Linked DNA regions of Homo sapiens: region 1 is linked to region 2. Evidence: promoter capture Hi-C in human tissues and cell types (Jung and others, 2019). All regions are on one chromosome and are shown on one strand. The core of a region is centred on a gene start or on the middle of the fragment in contact, and the rest is flanking DNA. Distances in the headings are between cores, read along the strand shown. Region 1 has its middle 24 kb from the start of FCHO2-DT. Region 2 holds the start of TMEM171 (transmembrane protein 171).

Region 1 (6,680 bases), core at 3,798-6,297, 190 kb after region 2:
CAGCCACTCTGAGTGCAGGGCCCGCTGAGCCCACGCCCACCCGGAACTCACGCTGGCCCGCGAGCACCGTGTGCAGCCCCGGTTCCCGCCCCCGCCTCTCCCTCCACACCTCCCCGCAAGCAGAGGGAGCCAGCTCCAGCCTCGGCCAGCCCAGAGAGGGGCTCCCACAGTGCAGCAGTGGGTTGAAGGGCTCCTCAAGTGCAGCCAGAGTGGACACCGAGGCCGAGGAGGCCTCTCAATCCCCCCTCTAAACAGGACACCCCAACTGCTGTTGGGAATTTGGCCAATGACCGCTCTAGCTACTTCCTGCTGGATAGGGATGATGAAGGGGTCCTGCAGTTGTAGTGTCCTCCAGAGGGGAACTCTCTAGGCCAGTGAAAGTGCCAGCAGGTTGGTTCAGGGATCCTCGGTAGAAGTTGTTAGTTGAACTCATTTGGGGTTCCATTTGTAAGACCATCTGTAGCTTGATGGCCTCGATTCTAGAGGAAACAAATTTAACAAGGATGTTAAAAATACAGGGTCCATAGGCAAGTAACAGCAAGATGGCTGCCACGGGATCTAGAAAGGGGAGAAGCCATGTTGCCCAACTCCAGAGGTTGGTATAAGAATTTGACAGGCGTTGCCTGATTTCAGGAGCCTTTTCCTGTAAACGCCAGGTGGCATCTTGTACTATCCCTGACTGGTTAGTGTAAAAACAACACTCTTCCCCTAAGAAGGTACAGAGTCCTCCTTTCTCAGCAGTGAGGAGGTCTATGCCTCAGTGGTTTTGGAGAGTCACTGCTGCCAAAGAGTCTATTTGGGATTGTAGAGTAAGCATAGATTTCGTTATTTCTTGCAAACTATCTGAGAAAGCCTTTGAGAGTGTGTGGTAGGTAGTAGGGTAATGAAATAGATAAACTGGCTATTTCGGTTCCTGTAGCAGTAGCCATTCCTAACCCTATAAGTAGGGGTATTAGTTGTATGGCTCTGTGCTGATGGACTTGAGCTTTGAGGGATACTGATAAGGTCTGGTTTCCTGGGGCAATGTTAATGTTGGGACTTAGAAAGACTAAGGTGCAGGTCCTGTCCAGTTAGTGGGGAGGCAAATATAGGTTGATGTTCCACATAAGAAGAATATACCTTGCTGGGTAGACAGAACTGGTTGTGTATGTTAAAAAGGTGTGTGTATTTGTTGTTTTCATTTTCCCATACTCCTAGAGTACTTGCCAAGGTAGCTCCAGTGAGTGGCTGGAAAGGGGTGTTGGGAGCAAACTGAGTGGCTCCCTGTGTTCTATTTTCCCATTGGAGAAAAAAACGTTTTGTATCCACTAGGAACCATTCGAGACAGTGATTGAAATAGGGGATTAGAAGGCATTCACTAGTGGTGGGGGAGCTGCTATGGGGGGTCCAGGGGTGAATGGTCATGCAGGGAGTATGTTTGCCATTACCAAACTTGGACTGTTCATTAAGCAGGGAGGAGGTGATGATTTTTGGGGGCCCTGAGAAGTGGACAAGCCATCTGAATGGAGCTGTCTGGGTGACTCGGAAGTTACTATGATCAGCTGGGGCTTGAAGTTGTAGGGTGTAATTACACTGATGCGTTAGTAGGTGCCCCAGGGGCAGGCCTGATAACAGGTTGCGTTGGATGCATAAAGGGGCTTGGAAAGTTAAGATGGTATTCATAGTTACCAGGCCATGTATGGGCTTTTCATTGCTTGTGTAATAGGTGAGGTTGGAAATGTAAGAACGTAAAAGTTGGATTGCACGTCCTGTTAGGGTATTCTTGGTCCTATCAGGGATGGAGAAGTTGGCTAATGATTGTATTTTTAGAAGTCAGAAAGAGTCTTTTCCTTCATAACAAGGGTGGTAGGTTAAATTGGTAAAGAAAGACCCAGTTTTTTGCGGGAATGGGAGTGGCAACATAAGCAGAGGTTGATAGAGAGATACAAAGCCAACAGTCATTTGCCAGGGAAGGATTGGACTGGTTTAACAGACAGTGGGTTAAATTGATAGTCTTTTAGAGGTAATTAGGAGCTAGTGGAAGGGGAGGGGTGATTGTATGAGGTATCCAAGGAAGCAGGAGGGATACATAGGCAATGAGCAAATAGGAAGATAAAGGGGGTGCTCTGGAAGAAGAGATCATTTTATCAAGTCTGAGTTAAAAGTAGGAGTAAACTGCTGTCAAAAGGAAGGAAGATAGAAAGAAGGTTGATGTGATTAGGATTTTTGTCCAGGCAGGAGCTACAGTATATAGTCCTATCGCAAAGAGTATGGTTAAAGCTGTTTTCACTTATCTTTTTTAAGGAGGAAGGGGTTTTTCCTCAGGATCAGTGGTAGGAGCCTTTTTAGTCTGGGATGTTTCCTTCTAAAATAGGAGATGCAAATCCTCCAATGGTTCGCAGGTGTATCGAGGCTGGTCTGGCTGATCTTGGGACTCCTAAGCTGATAGTCCTGCAGGTTCCTCAGGGGGTGTTCAAAGTTTAACTTGGGTGTGGTGAATCCAAGATTCCACTCCTGCCACCTTAAGTGCAGTGAGTAGAGAGGATTAGCAAGTGTGGTCCTTCCCACAAAGAGTCCATAGATGGGGAGGTAGAGGGGAGAGATTTGACCAACACTAGATCTCCTAGTTGAAACAACTCTGTTCCCTTTTCTCTGTGACATCCTGCAGGTAGGTTTTTAAGGTTTTGTTGATATTTTGCCAAAGAAGCTATATCTTTGATCAAGTTGGCCATTTCCTGATCAAGTAGGAGGTCATTTGTGAGAAAAGGTCGTCCATACCGCATTTCATATGGACTGAGCCCTATTTTGTGGGGAGAATTTCAGATTCCCAACAGGGCCATGGGCAAAAGAGTAGGCCATGGGCGATGAGTTTCTTGTGTTAGTTTCCTTAAGTGCCTCTTGAGTGTTTCATTTGCCTTCTCGACCTTTCCTGAGGATTGTGGCCTCCAGGAGCAGTGAAGGTGATATTGTATCCCTAGCACCCTGGAAATTCCCTGAGTTATCGTGGCTTTAAAAGCTGGACCATTGTCACTCTGTAAGCTTTGGGGAAGCCCAAATCTAGGAATTATTTCATGAATTAGGACTTTAGTCACTTCCTGAGCCTTCTCTGTCTTGCAGGGGAAAGCTTCTATCCAATTTGTAAAGGTATCAACACAGACCAACAAGTATTGAAATCCCTTTGACTTAGGCATATGGGTGAAGTCTAACTGCCAGTCCTCTCCAGGATAGTGACCTATTCTTTGCTCCCCCAAAGGGGCCTTATGATGGACCAAGGGATTATTCCTTTGGCACATCTCACAGGCTTTGACTACTTGTTGGATGGTTTGGAGGAGATTTGGCCCTGTTAATAGGGATTTGGCCATTTGATGAGTGTTTTCAATACCCATATGAAAAGTTTGGTGGAGGGTTTTAAGTATTTTCCACTGGCTGGCTTCGGGTATAAGTACCTTTCCTTCTTCTGTCGCCAACCACCCTGAGGGGAGAAAACTATGCCCCCATGAAAGTCACCACTCTGCTTCAGTTGGGGAATACTGGGGCTTAATCTCTTGGAGGGGGTTGTTCCATACCGAGGGTCCTTCCGTAGGTATTTCTAGTGGGAGGTTCTGCCTGGCAGCAATTTTGGCCTCAGCTTCTGCCTGACAGTTTCCTCCTGCCTTTTCTCCTTCACCTTTCTGGTGGCTTTGGCAATGTAAGACTGTCACCTCCTTGGGTTTTTGCACTGTGTGCAATAACTCTATAATTTCCTTGTGGTATTTAATAGGGGTTCCCCCAGAGGTTAGGAATTCCCTTTCTTTCCATATTGCAGCATGGGCATGTAGGATTAGATAAGCATACTTGCTATCTGTATACACATTTATTCTTTTTCCCTTTCCCAGTTCTAAAGCTCGGGTAAATGCCACTAGTTCTGGTAACTGGGCACTGGTCCCTGGGGGAAGAGGCTTACTTTCAAGTATGGTTACATCACTAACTATGGCATAACCGGCCCTTCGTATCCCATTCTCCACAAATGAACTTCCATTGGTATATAGGTTAAAGTCAGGATTAGCTAAGGAGACTTCTAAGAGATCATCTCGGGCAGCATAAGTCTGGACTATAATTTGTTGGCAGCCATGCTCGATTGGATCCCCATCTTTTGGGAGAAAAGTGGCAGGGTTGAGGGCCATGCATGTACATTTTTGAAGCACCAGTCCCTCAAGGAGTAGCACCTGGTATCTAAGTAGGCAGTTGTCTGATAGCCGTAAACTTCCTTTGGCACCTAGTATGCCATTTACATCATGAGTAGTCCAGACAGTGAGATCCTTTCCTTTTATTATTTTGATAGCCTCTGACACTAAGACAGCCACCGCCGCAACTACCCGTAAACAGTGAGGCCAGCCTTTCGCTACTACATCAGTTTCCTTACTTAGGTATGCCACTGGTGTGGGGTTTTCCCACGAGTCTGGGTAAGGACTCCAAGAGCTATCTCTGCTCTCTCTGTGACGTATAAAGATAAGTTTTGTCCTGTGGGAAGGCTTAAGGCTGGAGCTTGTACTAGGGCCTGCTGTTAGGTTTTGAAGGCTGTTTCTGCCTCTGGTTCCCATTCTACTAGATGTGTATTTGTCCTCTGGGTTTCCTTGATTAGAGTATAGAGGGGCCTGGCTTTCTCACTGTATCAGGGGATCCATAGTCAGCAAAAGCCGGTGATTCCAAGGAAGCCCCACAACTGTTTTAATGTCTTCGGGCAAGGATAAGCCAGTATAGGCTGTATTCATTCCTTGCTGAGGGCCTTGGTCCCTCTGGGCCTAGATATTTGACCTGCTGTAGGCAAAGCTGGGCCTTCGACCTAGATACCTTGTACCCTTGATTAGCTAGAAAGTTCAAGAGATCTAGAGTAGCCTGCTGGCATGAGGCTTCTGAACTGGTAGCCAAAAGCAAATCATCCACATACTGAAGGAACAGAGGGCCTGGACTTGAGAAGTGGCCTAGATCTTTGGCCAGTGCCTGACCAAACAGGAGAGGGCTATCCCTGAACCCTTGGGGCAAGACTGTCCACGTAAGTTGGGATGTGTGGTCTGTGGGATCCTCAAAGGCAAAGAGAAACTGGGAGTCAAAGTGCAGGGGAATACAGAAGAAGGCAACCTTGAGGTCCAGCACTGTGAACCATTCTGCTTCCTCTGGTATTTGAGAGAGGAGGGTATAGGAGTTGGGTACAACTGGATATAAAGGAATTACTACCTCATTGATGAGTCTAAGATCTTGCACTAGTCTCCACTGAACATTCGGTTTTTGTACTCCTAGAATTAGGGTGTTGCAGGGACTGCTGCATTTCCTTGCTAAACCTTGAGCTTTTAAATGTTTAACAATATCCTGTAATCCTTTATGAGCTTCAGGCCTTAAGGGATATTGCCTTTAATAAGGAAAAGTGGTGGGGTCTTCTAGCCTGATTTGGACTGGGCAGGCATTTTTTGCCCTTCCAAATTGTCCTTCCAATACCCAGACTTCAGGGTTGATTCCCTCCTCAAGTAGGGGACAACAAATGGGTAACTTGTTCCCCATATTCATGTAGATAATAGCTCCAGCTTTGGCTAATATATCCCTCCCTAATAAGGGTGTGGGACTTTCAGGCATAACAAGAAAGGCATGTGAAAAGAGCAAAGTGTCCCGATTACAACTGAGGAGATGGGAGAAATACCTGGTTACAGGCTGTCCCAGGATTCCTCGGATGGTAATGGACCTTGAGGACAGTCGTCCAGGACAGGAGATTAGCACTGAGAAGGCCGCGCCAGTGTCCAGGAGGAAGTCAATTTCCTGGCCGTCAATGGTTAAATGTACCCGGGGCTCAGTGAGGGTGATGACATGAGCTGGCACTTGCCCCAGGCACCCTCAATCCTGTTGCTGGATCATCTGGTTGGGGGCTTCTGACCCAGAGAACCTTTGTCCTCTGGGGCAGTGCACCTTCCAGTGATTGCCTTGGCATAGCAGACATGGACGAGGGGGCGGCTTGTTTCTCACTGGACAATCTTTTTAAAAGTGTCCTTGCAAACCACACTGGTAACAAGTCCTACTGGGTGATTGGCCTGCTCCACCCTCTGTCCTCTCTGAACCACCAAGGCTTGCTTGTGTGGGGGCCAAGACTAAGGCTGCAGCCTTTTTCTGATCTTGCTTTTCCTTTTGGGCTTGTTCCTCTTGGTCCCTATTATAGAACACTGAGGTTGCCAGGTTTAGTAATGCCTCCAAATTTTGTTCAGGGACCAGGGATTGCTTTTGGAGCTTTCCCCTGATATCTGCAGCTGACTGGGTAATAAACTTATCTTTTAGAATCAATTGACCCTCGAGTGATTTGGGTGACAGGGGAATATATTTCCTTAAGGCCTCCCATAGCTGCTCAAGGAAGGCAGGATTTTCTTCCTTTCCTTGAGTTATGGTGGACATCATTGAATAATTCATGGGCTTTTTCCTAATTCTCCTTAGTCCTTCAAGAACACAGGTCAACAGATATTTATGACTCCAGTCCCCATAATCTGAGTCAAGGTCCCAGTGGGGATCCATACTGGGGACAGCTTGCTGACCAGAAGGGAATTTATCCCTTTCTTCGGCTGTCATTCTATCATTCACTTGACTAAGATACCAAGTATCTTTAAACTCTCGGGCTGCAGCTAAAGCTGCATTCTTTTCATTAAAGGCCAGGGTTTGATCTAACAGTAGCATGACATCTCTCCAAG
Region 2 (6,942 bases), core at 680-3,179:
AGCCCAGGAGCTGGAGGTTGCAGTGAGCCAAGATCACGCCACTACTCTCCAGCCTGGGCAACAGAGTGAGACCCTGCCAAAAACAAAACAAAACAAAACAAAATGGTTCTTGGGTTCTCAACAAGCACAGACTGGTGACCCAGTTGCTTGGATCTGGGATGACCCTGGAAAGTGTTGCACAGCAGGTCAACAGGAGCTCAATTTTCAGAGTGGACAGGTACCCAAAGGCTGGTGTGGCCTCTCACTCACCCTCCTCCATGGTGTCACCTACTTCCACAAAGAGGTTGAGACTCAGTTAAAAAACAAGCAGCCAATAAAACTGCTAGTTATAAAGCACAAAATGGGTGGAAGGGGGGAACTTGGCTTTGAAAGAATAGTATAAGTGGAATCAAGTGAGAAAGCACCTTCCAGAAAATCACCCAAGCCCTGTACTTCAGGGGTATAATATATTAAATATGCCAAGTGGTTGTTAAAGAGTTGTCTAGCTTACACAGAGCTGACCTAATTATCTCGTTATCTTATTTTACTCCAATGAATGGGATATTTTACCAGGACCCCGTAAGTCAGGTCCTGCAATTGCAAAGACAATCCAAAATCGTGAAGACTATTTTCACCTGCCCAAGGAAAGAAAACTTTTAAAATATTTTGTGCCGCTCACATCCATGGTCCCATGAAGGAACTCAAGACTGAGGCCCTAAGCCCAAGATGATCTTGACAAACCAAAATCACACTGAGGGAAGGTCAGTTTAGGTAAAGAAAGCAAACAGGCAATCTTACACTGGGAAAAACTTTTCCAGGAAAAAGTATGATAGAATCAGAAGGAAGTTGGAGAAAAAAAGGAAATATAGGAGGGAAAAAAGCTTTCATTTCAAACTTGGAAAAACTTGATATACAGATGCAGTTAAGCTGAGACAAAGCATTGCACTAATTTTTTAATCTTCCCATTTTTTATTAAGTCAGTAACATCCTGCAGTGAATAAGAATTTCATATTGAGTATACAGTAGTCCTCATTTATCCTACAGGGAGTACATTCCAAAACTCTCAGTGGAATGAAACGATGGAGAGTCCTGAAACCTATATATATTGGTTTTTTGTTATTGTTGTTGTTTTAATTTTTTTCCTGAATCATGCAATCTCTTTTGCGGTTTCGGAGACAAGAAAGAGAAGGGTGATTCTCGGCTGCAAAGTCCTATCAGGAATTCATTTATTCCCAGTATAGTCAACTTTGCAGTGAGTCACAAGGCTTCAACTGTCTTAAGGCAAATTCCCAAACACCAGTAAATAGAAGCCCAAAACTGAATCTGTAGTTTCTTGTCCGTGGACTAGTGGACGGAGCACCTGGCTGAGTGTTCACCTCTGATCCATAATAGTGTGGAAATACTCTCTCTCTCTCCTTCTCCCACAGATGCACTCACAAACGGATACAAAGACACCCACATTCACTCGCAATGAAACCTTTTCCAAACACCACCCTACACTTAAACTCCCCAAAGCCAAACTCCCCTCTCCAACACTCCTATTGGTTTTCCAAAAGACATTTCCAAAATTCACAGCACCTCTCCACGTCCAAAGCTATGGTGCGTTTGGGGAACGAAACGAGAGGCAAATGCCTTCTGTGCGAAATCGGTTTGCGGCTTTTAGGGAGCCCGAGCGCAAGCAACAGCCGGAGGGGCTCGCAGGGACGCAGGTTGGGCTCGGATACCCAGCGCCTCCGCGCTGCCGCGGCTCCCCGCGCCCAGCCTGGCCGCACAGCTCAGCGCCCGACCCGCCGCCGCCGGCGCAGGCGCGCGGGCCGGGGCAGCTTACCTGAAGCTGGGTCCGGCGCCTGGCTGACCGCGCTGCTGTGGGCACTGGCTGGGCGCGGCGTCCGCCTCCGCACGCGGCCTCGGCTGCGCCGGCCGCCCTGCACCCTACCCACCGCGCGTCCTGGTGCGGAGGGCGGACCCGGCAGTATTTAGAGAAGGAGGCGGTGCTGCGCGGGCGCGGCGGCCCGGGGAGGGCAGGGCAGGGCAGTGCAGGAGCGACCGGTGGGAGCTGGCCGCCACTGGGGGCCCGGGGCGCGCCCGCGAGGGAATGGAGAGCCAGGGGCGGCTTCGGAACCCAGGGCTGGCGGGTTTGGCAGCCTCCGCGCTCGTGGCCGTGCGCGCGAGGAATCTGGGAGAAATGGGCACCTTCCACGGCTGCCTGGCCCGCACACCTGGCGGGGCCGGCGAGTTGAGATGCCCCCGCCGGCTGGCGGAACTGTGCGCCCCGCCCGCCGAGGCCCGCTCCCCCTCGAGGCCTGAGGCCCAGTTCTATAGGGGCGCGAGAGAGCGGCGGCGTGGGGGGCGCGGAGGAAGCGCCGGCCCCCGCCTCCACCGCCTCCTTCGTGGTTGCGGCCCAGGCCGAACAGGGTACCGTGCCCCGGCCGCCTTGGCCTTGGCCACCGCGAGGTCCGGGGCGACTACACCCAGCAGCCCTGTGGCCCTCCTACTGCTCTGGAGACCTGGAGTGGGGTTACAGAGGGAAGCGACTCGCTGCGAGCTCCCCATCGAATATGGAGCCACCAGGTCACGGGACGACGTGCGCTCTACAGAATGTGAGACAAGGGCCCTCCACACCCAGCCATTCAGGCCTGAGGTCCTGGCTCCGAGACTGAGGCCGAGACGCGGCAAGCCCCGCGCCGGACCAGCTCTGCCCCTCCCGCACCCACGTGTCTGCGCACAGCCCTCCTTTGCGATAGAACCCCCTTCCTGGTTCTCCACCACTAATGATCTGCCGGAATTAAACTGGTAACTTTCCCTGCCCTTGAACCGGGAGTTTCGGGATGAGTTTGCCAATCCCTGTGCTATTTGTAACCAGCCCCGTGACACGTGATACGGATCCAACTGTGCTAGTTTCCACACCAGGGGTCAGGGCACGGTGGAAGGTGAGTCAAGGGTTCTCTGCCCAAGCGCAGAGGTGCCCTGAGCCACGGGGACTTCCCAGCCCTGCCTTCTCTTCTCAGCTTCCTGTCTGCCTTGCCTGAAACCCTATCTAGAGTTAAGGCCAATGGATGAAACTTTTCAATGTGCAAGCAAGCACTTTACCTACCTGATACAACAAGAGATTCCTGGTCATGCTCACTGAAGGTAAAGTATGAAGCAGGCTTAGCTAATCATCAGAGGTGAGAAGAGACTTAAAGAACCAGTCAGAGAGGTAAAGAGGGGAGGGGGTTACCTGGGCTTTAGGGTTCACCAGGGAGGCAGAACGGACAAGTTCTTGCCATTGGAATTTGGTGGGGCACTTGCCTGGGTGGCCAAAGGTGGACTTTTTCATAGCCAGGGTGCCCGACCTCTGTAAATCCCCGCCATAACTAACAGCCCTGATTACTGTCGAAATGAACAATGCCAACACTCACGACCCCTTGCTTTGTGGTTCTTTGCTACATCTCTCCAGCAGTTCAGAAAAGGTTGGAGGCAGCAGGGGACAGGAGACTGAGAAAAACAGTCATTTGTCAGTTGAGGAAACTGAGGTCCAGGCTGACAGAGGTAAAGTAACCTCTGCAGCTGGTTGACATGCAGAGAAGGCCTGAGCCAGATGCAGATGCGCTGACCATTCAGTGTTTCTCCCGCAGCACACCTGTCACTCAGAGAACACACCATGCTGTGAACCCAGAAAACGCCCTCATGGCCTTGTGATGCCAAGCACGTTTAGATTATTATAACAATACAGGCACTGTGTCCCAAGGACATTGCAGTAATCTATGTTTGGGGTGGAGATATCCTTCCTGGTCCAAGTGTCAAGGTATACCACCTTCTGGAAGGGCACCAAAGCATGTCCAGCGAATGGGCAGATACCCAAGAGTGGATTGTACAACAGCAGGCACTGGCTTTCTAAGAACTCAGGCCCTCATTATAGGATTTGTCCCCTCTGACACAGGCCTGTGAACAACTCTTCATTGTGCAAAAGGGTTTCCTTGTCCTTTCCCTACTCATTCTTCCCTTCCCCCTTATTTGAAACTGAATCTCTGGCCATGTCATGTGCAGGCCTGCAAGGGGCCTGTTGATACAGCTGCCCCTCTGGTGCCACATGACTGCAGGCTCACCACCCATGACAGACTTGAATATCCTGGCACCAAGGACAATCAGATTAGCCTCCACTTGGTATATCTGCTGTTCTCACTGTTTGTGTCTATGAGAGCCTGTTTGACTAAATTAAACTCCTTGGAAATTGATCATCGATTATGTATGAAAGACATACCCACCAGCCTTTGAGGTACTTATCTTTGTAGCCCACCTAGCCTTAGGAGAGAAGCTGCGTGGCCTGGTCACTATCTAGTGGTCTTCCCTGGCCTGTGTGGTAGTGAAAAAGATAAAAGCCAGACCGAATCCTTAGAAAAACAGCATCAGAACAAGATTAAAAACCTCGAATTCAGTGACTGTAGAAGCATAAAGCAGAGGCATGTGTTCATGTATTTAGCCAGCACAGATTTACCAACTACCAATAAAACACGGAACTTGTATTTTATTGAGGAGAAAGGCAATAAAATATGTAAGTTATACAGAGAATTAGAAAGTGATTGAGTGCCAGGGAGAACAATAAATCACAGATGGGGACTGGGGAGCACCCCATTTTAAATAGGGGAGTTAAGGAAGGCATCTCTGAGAAGGTGAGATTGCAGCAAAAACTTGAAGGGAATGAGGAAGCAAGTGTATCAATGATCTATTATTGCATAACAACTTACCCCAAAACTTTGAAGTTTGAAACAGCAAAAATGTATTCTCAGGGTTTCTGATCAGGGTCAGAAACTGCAAGTGGCTTAGCTGGGTACTTCTGGCTGAGCCTCTCAGAGGCTGCAGTCTAGCAGTTGGCCAGGGCTGTGGTCATCTGAAGGCTGGACTGGGGCTGGAGGATCTGCTGCCAAGGTGGCACATTCACAGGGCTATTGGCAGGAGGCCTCAGTTCCTCACTATGTGGATTTCTCCACCCAGCCTCCCCTCACGTGAGTGATCCAAGGGAGAGCAAACAAAGGGGAAGCTGTGGTGCCTTTTCTGACGAGGCTCTGCACTTCCATACCATCACTTCTCTTTATTCTGGTCCTTAGAATTGAGTCACAAAGTCAAGGGGAATGGGATTAGGTGCCACCTCTTGTAGGGAAGAGTAAGAATTTGTAAGCATAGTTCGTGATTTTTTGTGGGAAGTAGGGAAGAGTGCTTCAGGCAGAAGTAACCACAGGTGCAAAGGCCCTGAGGTAGGAACACACATATTAGCATATTCAAAGGAGAGCAAGAGGCCAGGGTGGCTGCAGTTGGTGAGCAAGGGGGAGAGTAGGAGAGGAGGTCAGAGAGGAAAGGCATGTGCAGGGCCAAGGGCACCAGGTTGTGCAGGGCCTTTAAGTAGGTGGGAAGCCTTTGAATGGTTTTTGAGCTGATGTGATGAGCTTTGACAGTGATGTGATCTGATTTCTTTTAAAAAAGAAATTGGTGGCTGTTGCAGTAAGAATAGCCCAAGGAGGAGCCAGGATGGATGGGAAGAGGCCAGTTAGGAGGCTGTGGTAACAACCCAGGAGTTATGTCTGTAGCTTGTGTATGAAGGTGATGAAAGGGATGAGACTTTGGATATATCTTGAAGATAGAGTCAATGGGATTTTCCATGAACCACATGTGGGTTTTGATTCCAAGGTTTTGGATCTGAGCAAGTGGAAGAATGGTTCTGGCATGAGCAAGATGGGGAATCCTAAGAGTGGGACAAGTTTGAGAGGAGGAGCTTCAGAGTCCATTTGGGGACATGTTAATTTTGTCCATTAGACATCCGAGTAGAGAAGCTGAGTAGGCAATTGAATATGGAGGCTTGGAGTTCAGGAATTCGGAAGGAATACTTTCCTGTGGTCTGTGAGTGACATTACAAAATTGAGGAGGCTGGGCTCCCTCTCTGGAAGAGTAACAATTAGTCCTTTGGAGGGTTCTAAACACACAAAGCAAGGGAGGGGCTGGTGCCAACCAAGTGCAGTTTTCAGATGTTTCTGGGGTGCAGAGCACAGCTAGTGCGGCTGGGAGGCATGAGTTTCACCCAGAGCAGGGGGCTTCTGCTGCTCTGTTCCCAAAACAGTGCCCTAAGGAACACATATCTTTCACTTCAACAAGACAGGCCACGTATTTCTTCCCAGGGCACTGCCAACCCTGAGAAGAAACTCAGGGCAAGTGGATTGACCTGCAGAATTCAGTGGCACCATTTTTCAGAATTCATAAGATGGCAGAAAGACAATCAGCTAATCAAGTCTGCCAACTTCTAGGTCTCTTTTCTCTTTTGGTCTCTTTCTAATTCTGCCCCAAATTAATCTTAGCACCCAGAAGCACACATTTCCCTGCTTCCAATTTCTGATGTTTTCTGAGCCCCAGCTGGGCTTGGTTTATAGGAATTTATTCTTGAGCGCTCAGTCTTGGGTCCATGTTTCAACACATATTTCCAGGACTCCCAATGACTCCTCTGAACCAACCTGGGCCCCATCCAGCTGTATAACCCTGAAAAGGGTGTACCAAAGTCCCTGGGATATTTTCCTCCTCCCTAACCCCCAGGTCGGACTTAGACCCAGGGGCTTCAGAGACATATCAGGAGTGCAAGTAGAGGCTGACTAATTTGGAAAGCTTGAATTAAGGGTTTAGACTGGCTCCCTTAGCTGATCCTAGTGCAAAGGCTAATCTTTTGCAGAGTCATTTTATGGCGTGAGATGGTGCTGTTGATTTTGCACAGTTAATAACAGCTCAGCCTGAGTGCTGCTAGCCTTAGCCAAGGGTGTAGAATGCAAGCAGTTGTTTCAGCGAAAGTAAGAATTTGCTGGGAGCACACTTGGCTTTTCTGAAGAGGCCTCTGCACTGCCAAGGGAGAAAGACCCCCCCTCAACAGTGGCCACAGCATCTGGTCTGTGGCTAGAGGAGACCAACGTGTTGATATTAAGAGTTCTTTGGAAAAGTACTGTCTCT

Evidence for each region. Contacts are between HindIII fragments. The study calls those that stand out against the background at their distance.
Region 1: a fragment that was not itself captured here is called in contact with the fragment with the promoter of TMEM171 in region 2 in 2 of the 25 tissues and cell types used here (mesenchymal stem cells and spleen).

Annotation. Positions count from the first base shown.
Region 1 is chr5:72,928,660-72,935,339 of GRCh38, reverse strand. No RefSeq gene overlaps it. Among named protein-coding and RNA genes, the nearest start is that of FCHO2-DT, 24 kb to the left of the region's middle. The HindIII fragment of the contact is 3,971 bases long and covers 3,062-6,680 here.
Region 2 is chr5:73,115,562-73,122,503 of GRCh38, reverse strand. TMEM171 (transmembrane protein 171) reads right to left here and starts at 1,929. Exons shown (of 4, transcript NM_173490.8): 1 at 1,808-1,929. LOC124901001 reads left to right here and starts at 2,013. Exons shown (of 2, transcript XM_047417978.1): 1 at 2,013-6,942. The coding sequence starts at 2,075. The coding sequence ends at 2,776. RefSeq lists an enhancer at 2,539-3,090. The HindIII fragment of the contact is 7,583 bases long and covers 1-6,929 here.